Linked DNA regions of Homo sapiens: regions 1, 3 and 4 are each linked to region 2. Evidence: promoter capture Hi-C in 16 types of primary human blood cells and fetal thymus (Javierre and others, 2016). All regions are on one chromosome and are shown on one strand. Each heading gives the region's core, a stretch centred on a gene start or on the middle of the fragment in contact. The rest is flanking DNA. Distances are from core to core; before and after follow the strand shown.

What was found. The method cuts DNA at HindIII sites, captures the fragments that hold promoters and counts their contacts. A CHiCAGO score of 5 or more calls a contact.
Region 1: a contact is called between a fragment that was not itself captured here and the fragment with the promoter of CARTPT in region 2, in 2 of 17 cell types (M1 macrophages and M2 macrophages). The highest score is 6.3, in M1 macrophages.
Region 3: a contact is called between a fragment that was not itself captured here and the fragment with the promoter of CARTPT in region 2, in 1 of 17 cell types (endothelial precursors). The highest score is 7.4, in endothelial precursors.
Region 4: a contact is called between a fragment that was not itself captured here and the fragment with the promoter of CARTPT in region 2, in 2 of 17 cell types (M2 macrophages and endothelial precursors). The highest score is 6.7, in M2 macrophages.

The regions. Positions count from the first base shown.
Region 1 is chr5:72,009,911-72,013,497 of GRCh38, reverse strand. No RefSeq gene overlaps it. Among named protein-coding and RNA genes, the nearest start is that of MAP1B, 96 kb to the left of the region's middle. The HindIII fragment of the contact is 3,969 bases long and covers 56-3,587 here.
Region 2 is chr5:71,716,749-71,720,656 of GRCh38, reverse strand. CARTPT (CART prepropeptide) reads right to left here and starts at 1,382. Exons shown (of 3, transcript NM_004291.4): 1 at 1,205-1,382; 2 at 694-777; 3 at 1-149. The coding sequence starts at 1,363. The coding sequence ends at 42. RefSeq lists an enhancer at 358-1,244. The HindIII fragment of the contact is 2,457 bases long and covers 1-2,229 here.
Region 3 is chr5:71,457,761-71,461,499 of GRCh38, reverse strand. It overlaps BDP1 (BDP1 general transcription factor IIIB subunit), which reads right to left. Exons shown (of 39, transcript NM_018429.3): 2 at 2,645-2,921. Among named protein-coding and RNA genes, the nearest start is that of BDP1, 4.0 kb to the right of the region's middle. The HindIII fragment of the contact is 2,309 bases long and covers 916-3,224 here.
Region 4 is chr5:71,979,565-71,983,315 of GRCh38, reverse strand. All of the region lies in intron 1 of LOC124901000 (a long non-coding RNA gene), which reads right to left. Among named protein-coding and RNA genes, the nearest start is that of MAP1B, 130 kb to the left of the region's middle. The HindIII fragment of the contact is 1,539 bases long and covers 895-2,433 here.

The DNA.
Region 1 (3,587 bases), core at 791-3,290, 290 kb before region 2:
TTCCCTGAAGAGCTCACTGCTCCTGAAAACTGAGACATTTGGGGGATTGGAAGCTTTTGAATAACACGGGGGTTCAGAAGGAAAGAAAGAAATGAGTTGAAGGGTTAGCAGATTTTCGAGAAGATTCTTATATACATAATACTTCATACATGTGTATCTGAAGCATAAATACCCACTCCCGATAGAAGAGAGTGGCCATTTCCCCACACCCCCACCAACACACGTCTTCTTCAATCTTACAAGCCACAGTCTCTCTAATGTTCTTATAGAATGAAGTCATTCCTCTTATGTCTGGCTCCACCTGCTTTGCACACAGCCAGACTTATCTCCTCAAAAACTCAGTGCTGGCATGATGAAGACAAGCACAGTGACTTTAGGTCACCTTATGCCTCTGCGTGAGGAAGGTGCCAGAGCCACAAGACAGCAGGAGCTGGCTTCTTCCTAACGTGCTATAAAATCCCATAAGGCAAATCCCCCCACTACTTTTCTTTTTCAGAAATTCCAGCCTGTTCATGCTTGTTAATTTTCCCAAGCAAACGTTAGCATCAGCTAATCCCTTCACAGTTTTTTTTTTCTCCAAGTATCATCTTGAAGTATTTAACATAAAAGTTCATTTAGGGAGAAATGACACCTCTATGTTGTCTTCTTGTTATTTACATAAGAAATGCTTTATCTTTTCATTTAAGTCTCCTTTCATGTTAGAGTTTTGTTTTTGTTTTTGTTTGTCTGTTTTATAATACAGAGCCTTGAACCACAACTCCAGACAATCTGATTTCATATCTTTGGAGCTGGGTCAGGGAAAAGAGCATCAGCGGTATAACAAAACAGGCCCAAGGCTTGAAAGATAACCTTAGCATAATGTATTTCACATCATTGCCTACAGACTGCCTCAAATCTTGAAATTAGGAGGCAAATATTTTTCTAACTTGCCCTTTTTCTAAATTATTAATAATCATGGGTAAAACAGCCTTTTACGTGCTACACCAGGAATGTGGCCAAGTGTGTTGATGTGGAAAGAGGCAAGGTTAGCCCAGAGGACATGGGTTAGAGGAGGAAGAGGGGAGGAGGAGGGAGATGCCATTTTTGGAAAAGTCTGGGCTTTGGTTTCCCACCAGTGAATTTCATTTAAATAAAAAAAGCACTCCACATATGTATTGCTATGACAATACTAAGTCTCTTGCTCTGAGTTTCTTAGTATGTGTCAAACCAAACAGAGTCAACCCTACTGCCCAAAATTGTTGTGAGGCTCAAATGAAACCACATATCCATTTATACTGGAACAACTGTACCATATCCCCAAACTGTAAAATGATTAAAAAGTGAAATGTCATTATTATTACTTTTTTTCTCATGGGAAATTATATTTTAAGTTATAAACATGCGACCTGCATTTTGAAATCCAACATGCCCTTGAGTTTGGGATCCTTGCAGATGGCAAGAGTTCATGCCTATGTTCCCTACGTGCTTTCAGAAAGAAAAGCAGTCAGGTGAGGATTCTTTAAGGATCAGCCAGCTCCTTTTAAAAGGTAAAGAGGTGTTCTCGGCCGGGCGCGGTGGCTCACACCCAGCACTTTGGGAGGCCAAGGCAGGCAGATCACCTGAGGTCCGAATTTCAAGACCAGCCTGACCAACGTGGAGAAACTCTGTCTCTATTAAAAATACAAAATTAGCCGAGCATGCTGGTACATGCCTGTAATCCCAGCTACTCAGGAGGCTGAGGCAGGAGAATCGCTTGAACCTGGGAGCCAGAGGTTGTGGTGAGCTGAGATCACGCCATTGCACTCCAGCCTGGGCAATAAGAGCGAAACTCCGTCTTGAGGAAAAAAAAAAAAAAAAAAGAGGTGTTCTCTTCTCTTCCACATCCCCTCTTGTCTCATCTCATGGGTTTCAGGATTTTTTTTTTATATCCTATTTGTAATGGGCCCTTAATGCTATTCCTCATCTTTTCTTTCCTTTTGATACTTCTCTTGCCCTGTCTCTCTTTTCTCAAAAATATAGAATTGTCTTTTATCTTCCCTTAAAAAGAATCACTTCCACAATGATAAGTTAGTTCACATTTTTTTGGAAGTCCCAACAGTACGATGTAACAGAAGTGTTCACATTCTTTGATTCCTCAATCCCAACCTTGGGCAACAGTCTCAGGACAGCAACTCAAAAGAAGAAAAAAAAGACAAAAACTACATGTAAAAAGATAATTACAGAAAAATACTGGAAAATGTTCAAGGATGCAAATAAACTAGTGCTGAATTTATAAGAGAAAATAACACACAACTTTAAGGAAGAAAAGTGGAGACTTTGCAGAAATGTTTTTGCATTGCTTATGATAGGTGAAAAATTAAGAATACAAAACAATATCCACATTATGACTAAAATTACGTAAAATTATGTTCATAAATAGAAATGATCAGAAGAGGACAGAGAGGGGAGACAAGGCACAATCGCTGTGGGGCTGCTTTAATAATACAGAGTGCACAAAAAAGGAAGATCCTCTCGAGGGCTCCCCCCGAGCAGTTCACCCTTTCTTCCTCATTTTCCAGCCAATTCCAAAATACTGTAAGAAAAATAGAGGGTTTTGCATCAAGTAACATTGAAACATTTATTTGCTAAAAACCAAGTGTGAATTTTTGACATCTTCCCAATTGCTACTCCAACCACCAGCTGCCAGTAGAACACAGGATTGTTCTGCGGCTTCCTATAAACATCATACAGTTGTCATTAACTAAGGGTCTTGTTATAATGTAAAAAAATGGCAACTTTGCTTTCTTAAAGCAGGACGCTTCACCAGGCAAGGAAGTCAGCATGAGGCTGCGTGCGGCACAGCCCTCATTTGTGTACTTAAAATTTGTTTACTAAAATCTTTTATTACATTGTCATTAACAATGTTCCCAAATTTTTGCAAACACAGGGACTCAAACCACATCATAAATTAAAAGCAGGAACAGACTGTACCAGTTTGCTGGCACTCAAACATGATTAGCTTATTGGGCCATAAACCCAACTTTTAAAAATATAAGTAAATAATTTTAAGTTGGAATAAAACCTATTTAGTAATCAAGTAGGACTAGGACAGAAGCACTAAAATATTCTATGAAGAGCAGGGATGCATTATCCTATTCAAGTTTGTACTCTCAAATCATTTATATATTTTTCCTAACTACTTCTGAATTCACATTTGTTCTGGATAGGTTGGGTAATGCATATTATGTATTTGTTTAAATGCTTTATGTAAATGAACTCATTTAATTATCACAAATAACCCTAAGGTGTAGGTAGAACTATTACCCCCATGTGGCAGATCTGTAAATTGAGGCCCAGAGAGGCCACACTACTATTAAGTGACTAAGCCAGGAGTCAAACTGGGCTGTCCAGCCCTCAAGCGTATGTTCACGGAGAAGTCACCTATAGCACATCAGTGTTATTACTTTTGACTTAATAGTGCCCTGGCGCAGGTGTCCAGGGAAGGGTTCCAGGAAAGGAGGACGACACTGCTAGGGTGAAACACGCAAAGTGGAGAGCCAGAGGAACCCGGGGTGGACAGCCTGGGAAGGACATTGAAGCCATTGGGATTCGTTTCCTTGCTCCTAAGC
Region 2 (3,908 bases), core at 133-2,632:
AGTAGAGGGATGGGGATGTATGGAGGAGAATGGACGCCCCTTCATAAGCACTTCAGGAGGAAGGAATTGCAGGAGGTTCCTCGGGGACAGTCACACAGCTTCCCGATCCTTGCCCCTTTCCTCACTGCACACTGCTCACCGGCGTCACACTGAAACAACAAAATGTGTGGTCATCGAGTATGAACAAACCCAGGTTCCCAACAGGCAAGTCTCACAGTCAACGCAATTTCTGTCTCTTGAAAGGGGCAATTGGACCCCATCACCATCACAAGAGGTCTACGTACAGTCAGATCTGAAACAGGGAGCCTTGTGCTTATAACCTCAGTGAGAGTACATTTTTTAAAGAAACTTACATTATTAGTTTTATCCTAGTTTCTTCCACCTTTAAGTGGCGAGGGTTGGGGGGCGTGGGAAGGGGAGCATCACATTTCCTGGCTCCTTTTCTTGCCCTCTCAGAGGGGAAAAAAATCAGACCTTTTTCCTGAGCAACAAACAATAGACTTACACTTTCTTACAACCCCTGTTCCTGCTTTCCCATTTCCTCACCCGGGAAGGAAGAAGGAGCCCACAGAATCCTGCAAGCCCATTACCTAAGTTATTTAGCCACATCCTACGGAGAAGACTGTGTGTACGATTCAAGGCGGTGTACTTTCTCTTGGAAAAACACGGGAAGGGAGTGACCACAAACCTTACCATGGGGACTTGGCCATACTTCTTCTCATAGATGGGAACACGTTTACTCTTGAGCTTCTTCAAGACTTCTTGCAGCGCTTCGATCTGCAACACACCGCTTCGGAGCCTGAAGTTGCCGCCTTGGCTGCGAGCCCAGCCCAGGTGCGCACTTCCAGCCCTAGTTATAAGGAGCCCCGGACCCACACGCACTCTGCGGTGGGACTCCGCGGACACAGGGAATGGTCGAGGGGTGGAAACTTAGCGGACGCTGTCCCAGGTACTGACCGCGGGTCTCTGAGCCGCTGGGGTCCCTGTTGCTCAGAGGGGCCGGGATGAGGGATTCGCTCAACAGACTGCCAGGAGCCCGTGAGCTCGAGACGCTCTTCGGATGGCAGTGGGTGCCTGGGCGTTGCGCTCAGCTCCCCGCGCCCTGACTCTGGGAATAGGAGTGGGGGTGGGGGGAGGAGGGAGGCGTGCAAGAGAAGAGACAAGGCGACAGCTCAAGGGGGTCGAGAGCGAGGGGAATACCGACCAGCTCCTTCTCGTGGGAGGCATCATCCACGGCAGAGTAGATGTCCAGGGCTCGGGGCTGGAGCTCGGCGTCCTCCTGGGCACGGGTACCCAACAGAGGTAGCATCAGCAGCAGGGCGGCGCCCAGGAGGGGCAGCAGCCTCACGCGGGAGCTCTCCATCGTTCTGAAACTCGTCGTTGCTGGGGCACCACGCGCTCCCACCTTTTATAGTGAGCCCGAGCCCCCGTGCAGGAAAGAGGGAGGAGGCGAAGAAGGAAGGGGGTGTGGAGGAGGGCCCGGGTCAACCGTCTGTAGGCAGCGCTCCGCCGGCGCTTGACGTCAATGCCCGCCGGGTTCCAGGCGCCTGGGAACGAGGCTCTGCGCACAGATGGGCTAGAGCGCAGAGAACAGGACCCTGCGCCCCCAAAGGCTGTCAGTCTCACGGCAAGGGATGCTCCCCGAGGGGCCTGAGCTGAAGCCGAGGGGCTAGAGGTGAGGGACGGGAAGCGGGAGGGGCCTAGGAAATGGAAAATGCCTTCGGGTCAATGCACAGGCAGGAGAGTCGTTTCCCAACACCTAGCAGTGGTGACAGCTGCAACATCCACCTCGCCAGCCCTGCCTTGCCTCGCACCCCAACCCCAAGTGTGGCGGTGAGAAGGGGGTGTTGCCTCCAGACAGCCACATTTGCTGAGCACCTTACTCTGTGGGGTAGGGGAAGCAAACATACTATACAAAAGAAAGAGAAATAGTGGCCCTCCACGTGATGGGTTCTATGATGGAATCTGTGTGACAATAGTTAAAAGAAGAGAGGGAAAACAGACAAACCCGGATTCAGCAGTGGTGTTGGAAGTGCAGAGAGCCAGGCTCTGGTTCCCATCCTGGCTACACCACGTAAAAGTTGTATGACTTTGAACAAAATGAAGAACCTCTCCAAGCCTCAGCTTTCTCTTTTGTAGATCTAGGATTAAAAAGATATACCTCACAAAGTCATCAGTAGGATGAAATGAGAGATTAAGTATGTCAAACTCCTGGTTCTTAGCTAAGCTTCCCTGTCCCTCCTTTTTGAACTTTGAGGCTGCCCAGGCAAATTTAACCATCCCCAGAACCTCCCCCCACCCACCACCAACCCTTGGTATCCAAGAAGCCTGTCTAGAAAGAGAGTAAAAGAGTGAAAAGAAAGACAGCTCCATGATTATGAAAATATCTCCAGAGATCAGAAGTCAATGGTGAACCAGCTCCCCAACAACTTGGGAGAACAATGTGGCTTTTTTAAAAGTTGAGATCCTTACAGCCTGAATGCACAGGAAAATTCCTGTAGGAAAAGCAATGCTTTCCCGCTTAGACCTGCTTGCTCACCTGGCTTCCTTCACCACACCATCTTTCCCTCAACTGTTCCTAAATTCATCCACTCTTCTCCATCCCCATTACTACAACCCAGTCCTAGACAGCTGCCCCAGTCAACTTAATGTCTACCACTTAATCCCCACCCTATCTTCTCTTGCCTTCCTCTACTCCATAGTTCACCACCAACCAGAGTATTTTTCCCCTTAAAATACACTAATGACTCCTAATCTTACTAAGCACTGAATCTAGATTCCTCATCCTGACTTGCAAAGCATTATATGATCTTCACCCCTCTCCACCTCATGTTCTACCACTCTGCCCCAGACTCCTCCACTCCAACCTCACATGGCCTTCTTTCTGGTCCTCTAGCAGGCCAATCTCATTCATACTTTGATGTCTTTGCACTTACCCCTCCTTGAAAGGTCTTCCTGTATTTCCAAAAGGCTCACTACTTCTGTTATTTAAATCTCAGTGTAAATATCTATGACTACTCAATCCAAACCATCTATCAATACTTTTCTCCCACAAATTTATTGCATAGCAGATTATGTGGGTCATTAAGATAGTTTAATACACAATATATGCCTGGTTACTTCAACTATCAAGTATTTAATTGGTACTCAAATACTCACTGGGAAGCAATTCAAGAAGTGATATCTCTTCTAATGAATAGCACACATATTAACAGCATCAAAATATTTTGCTGTGGGGTAAACCCAACTTGAAAATGTATCTAACACCTCCCTCAGCTCTGCCTTCCACACATACCTTTTGATTCTGCACAAGAAAACTTCAGTGGCAGCACGTTTTACTGTTAAAACCTTACAGAGACATATTGACACTCACTGCAAAAACCATCTCCAGTGATCTTTAAACTATTCTAAGCTTCAGAAGAAAAATAATCTCAAATAAGATTTTAGCCTATTCTTCCTGAAGGATGTAGATATTGTCAATGCAATACTTTCTCTCCAATTTTGTTCTACCCAGACACAAGTAATAACTTTCCCTTTGTGCTACTTCTATTGGAAAAAAATCCAAAGTTTAAATCTTGCTGAACTTGAGTTGGTGCTATCATTTTCTTATAAGGAAGGCACATTTAGTTAAGGGGTTAGGGAAAGGACTCTTGGAAAATCCTGTGAAACAAGCCAGGGGCATCTTTGTCACTTACATACCACAGGCTTTTCTTCATCTTGAACAGAATGACTTTATAAACTGTCTTTAGCTAGCATGGTATAGTAAATTCTAGGCTATCTTCTTCCCAAAGACAACTTTTATGTAAGTTAAAACTCAAAAAGAAACAAAAGCATGAGACATTCCACAGTCTTCATATTATGCCCTGTTAGGAGAATTTGTATATTCTTACTACTTTGTAATGACTCCA
Region 3 (3,739 bases), core at 821-3,320, 260 kb after region 2:
TGGGACTACAGATGCTTGCCTAACACCTGGCTAATTTTGTGGGGTTTTTTTTTTTTTGGTAGAGATGGAGTCTCCCTACGTTGCCAAGGCTGCTCTCAAATTCCTGGGCTCAAGTGATCCTCCTGCCTCACACTCCTAAAGCACTGGAGTGAACCACACACCCAGGCAGTATTTAGATTTTAACAATTAAAGTGACTAGGACTAGATAAAAGCTCAATGTGGCCAGGCACAGTGGCTTATTTCTCTAATCCCAGCACTTTGGGAGGCTGAGGCAGGAGGATCGCTTGAGCTCAGGAGTTACCAGCCTGGGCAACATAAATGAGACCCTATCTCTACAAAAAAATACAAAAAAATTAGCTGGATGTGGTGGCATATGCCTATAGCCACAGCTACTTGGGAGGCTGAGGTGGGAGGATCACTTGAGCCTGGGAGGTTGAGGCTGCAGTGAACTGCAATTATACTAGCGCACTCCATCCTGGGTGACAGTGAGACCTTGTCTCAAAACTAAATAAATAACCAAAGAATAAAACTAATAAAGCTCAATGTATAAAATGCTTACTGATGCCTTCTAACTAAACATCTTAATAGCTCACTGAGAATTTATGCTTACACAGCTTTTTTTTTACCCTGTAGTGACTTGAAATTCTGTGTATTTTGTAAAATTCTTGAAGCAAATGTTTAATCTTTAATTCCCCAAAATAAATTAAATAAGCAAATAAGCAGTTTCTGTAAAATACAGAACTTTTTTTTAATCCCCCCACCCCCAATTCCCAACCCATAAAACATTTTTAGAGGCTTTGATCTGTCGCCCAGGCTGGAATGCAGTAGCACAATTTCAGCTCACTGCAACCTCCGCCTTCCAGGTTCAAGCAATTGTTGTGAGGCTTACATTTTAGAAGACATAAATTGAAAGCTTGTTTTCTCCTGTGTGAAACAGTGATATCTACTTCACATAGTTGATATAATTACATAAGATAACAGATATAAAGCACCAAGCAAAATGCCTTCCCTTAATTTAAAAAAAACTAAGAGGCATTTTATAATTCATAACAGAAGCTGACACTGGTTGGACACTTACTATTTTCATGACACTAGTTTTTTTGTTTGGTTGGTTTTTTTTGAGACGGAGTCTCGCTCTGTCACTCATGCTGGAGTGCAATGGCACGATTTTGGCTCACCGCAACCTCTGCCTCCCAGGTTCAAGCGATTCTCCTGTCTCAGCCTCCTGAGTAGCTGGGATTACAGGCGTGCACCACCACAACCAGATAATGTTTGTATTTTTAGTAGAGACGGGGTTTCACCATGTTGGCCAGGCTGGTCTCGAACTCCTGACCTCAGGTGATCCGCCCACCTCGGCCTCCCAAAGTGCTGGGATTACAGGCGTGAGCCACTGCACAAGGCCCAAGACACCAGTTTAAGTGTGTTTTACATGTATTGACTCATTTAATCTTCACAACCCTCTAATGAGCTAGATAGAGGTTGAGCATCTCTTATCTGAAATACTTGAGACCAGAAATGATTCACATTTTGGATTTTTTCACATTTTTGAATACTTGCAGAATACATGCTGGCTGAGCATCTCTAACCTGAAAATTTGAAATCCAATATGCTCCAATGAGCATTTCCCTGGAGCATCACTTTGGCACTCAAAACATTTTAGACTTTGGAGCATTTTCAATTTCAGGGATGCTCAACCTGAACTATTATTGGTCTATTTTACAGATGAGGAAATAGATTAATTAAATTACCCAAGGTCACAAAGCTAGTAAAGAAATGAAGCTGAGATTCAATCCCTAAGTATTTAACTCCAGGGCCAGCATGCTCTACTGCTGTTACCTGCCCTTCTAGAAAAGAAATCAATCCTCAAGATTAAAAAGAACATGGACTCTAATATATGCATAACACAAATTTTTCCCACTTGTAATTTTCCATAGTCAATTTAGAAAACATTACCAATTCATTCTGCTCAACTATATTCGTCTTTTTTTTGGAGACAGTTTCACTCTATCACCCAGGCTGGAATGCAGAGGCACAATCTCGGCTCACTGCAACTTCCACCTCCCAGGTTCAAGCAATTCTCATGCCTCAGCCTCCCCAGTAGTTGGGATTACAGATGCACGTCACCAGGCCCAGCTAATTTTTGTATTTTTAGTAGAGACAGGGTTTTGCCATGTTGGCCAGGCTGGTCTTGAACTCCTGACCTCAAGTGATCTGCCCCCCTAGTCCTCCCAAAGTGCTGGGATTACAGGCATGAGCCACCACGCCCGGCCTATACTTGTCTTAATTCAAATAAATATATCACTTATCACTTGGACATCTTTATGTGAAAAATCAGACTGAAGGTTTATTTTATAAATATGTTTGTGTATGTGCATCTATGTGTATGCGTATGAAACTTATTTGTGGTCTTCACCAAAAACAGTGAAAACATAAATAAATAATGTAAAAATTACTATCAGTGAAAAATGTAATTTAAGTCCACGGTGTATCAATCAATCCATTAACAAGAAGGGATGTTCTATTGACTAAGGGATGTTATGTGGTTTTGTTCCCCCATCAAAATGCTACAAATGCTTTTCTTCCCAATGATTCCTTACTAACATAAATAGAAGGCAACATCAAAATCCTGATTCTCCTCCCTTACCTTCTCTTTTCTCAATTCTTCTTTTAACATTTCCCTCAGTTTCTGGGCTTTGTATATTCGGTATCTGTCTGAGCATGGCTGTTTCTCTTTTGTTGAAGTGGCAGTTGGCTGTGGAGCCTCTTGATTAATTGTAGATAAGGGATGAGATTCTGAAGGAACACTGACACTAGACTTAACCAGGCTAGAAGTACTTGATATTCGCTTTCTTCTCTGTGAAACAGTAGAGGAAGATCTACTGGATTCTTCAACATCATTGTCACCACCAGTCTTTTCAGTACTGTTGAAATTAAAAAAGAAAAAAGAGGGCACATGAATCTTCTGTTACACATGCTAGTTTTAAAACCTAGTCTGGTGAAAATCCAAAACTGCAATCTCGTAATTAAAAAAAAAAAATTAGTAACTTGAGATTTATGATAATTATGACAGGTTACAAAAAAATTTGTTTAGTAAATCTTTTAAATATACGTAAATTCTAATAGACTCTTAATCTTTTTCAAACATAAAGTCCCTAGGCACATTACAGCACATAATTATAGGCTTACCCCCCTCAAAACAAATAACCAACTTACAGAACAAAGCTTAGTCAACCTAATTTGAATTACTAAGTAACAAAGTAATAATTTATAATTAATTTCTATATAAAATTTAAAAAAATTTTAATTCACTCTGACATTTTAAACTGGTCTAAACTACCGGCATTTTACTTTACTTATCAACCCGAGGTCAGTCAAATCAAATATGCAAAACTCCAAACCTCTGAAATATCTGTATTGCAGTATTTGAAGAAAAACATTTAGTTACAGTAGCCAAACCCAATTCCCTTTGAGGCAGAAATCATTTATCTTTTGTCAGGTACAACTCTACTTATACAGCCATCAGAATAAACTTCAGTCAAAAAAAGTACTCAGTCACCCCAAATTGCATATTAGGTATGGTATACCTCAGATATAAGTATTTCAGGAATGGTCTATAAATGCAACTTAAGTCAAGAAAAGAGGTGGTATAAGTCAATAATTAAAAACAGTCTACTTTTTTCCTATTTTATAATTACTTATAAAAAATTAGAAAATGCCTTAACTTATAGAATAACCTTTC
Region 4 (3,751 bases), core at 415-2,914, 260 kb before region 2:
ACACACCCTCATTCTGACTGCTAAACTACACCATTACAAGTGTGCAGAGGAGGAAAGTGAAAGTCCGAATTTTCTTGAGGTCAGAAGGTGGAAGTCTTACTGACTTGATGTGTCTGAACACACCCTCAGCACTAATTGCTGGCTGACCACTAAACTATGCAAGCACAGGAGAGAGCCCCAAGGGGCCAGGTGTTTTTTAAAAGCCAATCTGAGCAGAGACATCAGCAACTTCACACCATAAAGGAGACAGATTTTGAAGCTTTAGTCCAGAAAATTAAATTGCCCATTAAAACAAACAAACAAGAAAACAATTACCCCCCCAAGACCCCAAATCCAGAATTGCTATTGTGTATTACCTACAATACCCAGGTTTTAACCAAAAATTACTAGACAGGCAAAGAATAGGAAAGTGTTACTCATACTCACGAAAAAAGGAAGTCAATAGAAACTGATTCTAAGCAGGCACAGATGTTGAATTTAGCATACAAAGATATGAAAGTAGCTACTATAAATATATTCAACAAATTAAAATAAATTATATCTTTAAAATAAAGGAAAATATACTAATAATGAGTGAACACATAGGGACCCTAACAGATACATGAAAACTATAAAAATGAATCAAATGGAAATTCTAAAACTGAAAGATACACTAACTAAAATAAAGAAAATTTACTAAATGGCCTCAATAGCAGATTTGAGATAGCAGAGGAAAGGATCAGTGACCTTGAACATAGAACACAGTGAAAAAAGATGGAAGAAAAATGAAGAGACTGAGAGATCTACTGGGAAATATGAACCATTTTATCATATGTCTAAATGGAGTTCCAGAAGAACAGAGAGAAAGAAGCAGGAAAGTATATGAAGAAATAATAACACAAAGTTTCCCAAGCTTGGTGAAAACATTAACTTCCAGGTCCAAGATGCTCAATGTATCCCAGTAGTATAGACACAAAGAAAACCATATCTAGATGCATCATATTCAAATTACTGAAAGCTAATGAGAAAAATCTTCAAAGCAACAAGAAAAATGACCATTTCATATAGGGGAACAATGATGCAATTAATGGCTGGCTTCTTGCCATACAAAATGGACGTCAAAATACGTTGCACAAACATTTTCAAAGTGCATAAAGAAAAAATACTGTAAACTAAGAATTTTATAGTCAATAAAGTTATTCCTCAAAATGAAAGCAAAATAAGAAAATTTCAAGATAAACAAAATGTGAGGAAATCAATCCTGGCAGACATGCACTATGAGAAATGTTGAAGGAGGTCCTTCAGGCTGAAGGGAAAACATATATGACAATAATATTACAAAGAAGAGGAATGTAATGAAGCTATATTGGGGCAAACATATTATCTCTTATTGAAAATAAGGCTACTTAAAGTAGACTATAATAAAATAAAGACACATATATTAATCCCCAGAATAATCACCAAAAATAATTCAAAGAAATATAGCTAAAAGTTAATAGAGGAGTTAAAATAGTACAATAAAAGATATTTATGTAGTGCAAAGTAAGAAATAAAGCAGTTATGGAAGAAAAATGAGAGATTAGACAAATATAAAATAGCAAAAAGTCATAAACAAATCCAAACATATCAATTATTACACTAAATGTGACTGCACTAAATACTTTAATCAAAAGACATAGATTGATACACTGGATTTTTTAAAAAAGATCCAACTGTAATTGTCCACAATTTTTCAGAGTGATAATAGTATTGTAAAACTCATGGTGATAGCTGCATAAGGCATACATTTTTCCAAAACACATCAAACTGTACGCTTAAAAAAAGGTAGATGTTTTCTTCATTGTCTTCTGGCAAAAAAAGGGGGATGTTAGCTTTATATAGATTATACCTCTATAAAGCTGTAAAAAAAAAACAATAAAAAGAGGACATATTCCAAATCATTCTATGAATCCAGAATATCCATCATAACATATTCAGATAAGAATAAAAAGGCAGATATCAGGCCATTCTCACTTAAAAAGTAGATGCAAGAATCCTAAACAAAATATTAACAAAATGAATTCAGCGATGTGTAAAGACAGATGAAACGTCAAGATCAAATTGGGTATATCCTAAGAATGTAAGGCTGGTTGAACCTTTAAAAGTTAGTAAGTACAATCTATCATAGTCATAAATTATAAGAGTAAACACATGGTCGACAGAAGAGACGCAGAAAGAGCATTTGATAAAATATATCATTCTTTCGGATTTAACAAAAATATAACTCTTATGAAACTTAGAATAAAAAGAAATTTCCTTAACATGATAAGTGAAAGAAAAGTAACAGTAAACAACATACTTAATGGTAAAAATGCTTGAGATCAGGAAACATCGAAAAATATCTGCTTTTACTACTCCTTTTCAACATCTTAAATGTGATGAACAACAGTTTCAGTCAGACAAGAGGAATAAGCTTTAGTGATCTATTAAACAGAATCGTGACTATGATAAATAATAATGCATTGTGTATTTCAAAATTGCTAAAAGAGATTTTAAATGTTTTCACCACAAAAAGTGATAAGTATGTAGCGATGGATTTGTTAATTGTCCTGATTTAATCAATCCACATTGTAAGCATATCAAAACATCACATTGTACCTCATAAGTACATATAATTGTTATTTGTCAATTAAAAATAAAAATTTAAAAATATAAATATACAAAGTATAATCCATAAAGGAGAAGATTGATAAAACAATATATGAAAATTGAAAATTTTTTTTCTAAAAAACACTATAAAGACAATGAAGACAAGCCACAAATTGTGACAAGATATTTGCAACTAATATAAACAAAGATTTAGTATTTAGAATGTATACAAAATTCCTACAAATTAATAATACAGAGATTGCCAATTCAATAAAATGGGAAAAATTATGAAAAATTTCACAAAAAAATACTAAGGCTGATAAACAACGAAAAAATTATCAAACTTTTGTATTCACAGAAGTGAAAATTAAAACTACAGTGAGATACCATTTCACAACTTCCAGTTTGACAAAACTTTAAAGATCAGACAATGTTAAGTATTGTTGTTATGAAACAAAAACTTTCATGCTATTAGTAGGAGTATGAGTTATCACAAACACTTTGGGAAACAATTGGCAGTACCTTACAGAACTGAACATATGCATACCCTATGATTCAGCAATTTCTCTATAATATATGCGTTCATAGAGTCATCTCTTGATATATGCAGGGGATTGGTTCCAGGACACCAGAATATCCCAAAATGCACACATATTCAAGTCCTGTAGTTGGCCCTGCAGAACCCACGTATAGGAAAATCTGGCTTTTCATAAACATGGGTTTTGCATCCAGCAAATACTGTATTTTTGATCCATATTTGGTTGAAAAAAACTCGAATATATGTACACAATAATAAACAAGTTTTGCACACTCAAAAGTTCTCTCAGTGGACCCACACAGTTCAAACCCATGTTGTTCAAGGGTCAACTGTATATATACGTACATATATTATATATAATATATGTATATATATGTATATACATACATATGTTCAAACATTCTTGAATATATACACATTTACTTGTGCAAATGTACACAGCTCAAATGCTCATCAACAGTACAACAGATATAAAAATTGAGGTTTGTTCATACAATGGAATAATAAATGGCTGTTAAATTAAGTGAGCGATATCTGTGCATATTCATGTGGTTGTATCTCAAAAATATACTAAGTGAAGGAGATAAGTCATGTGGATTTCATTTC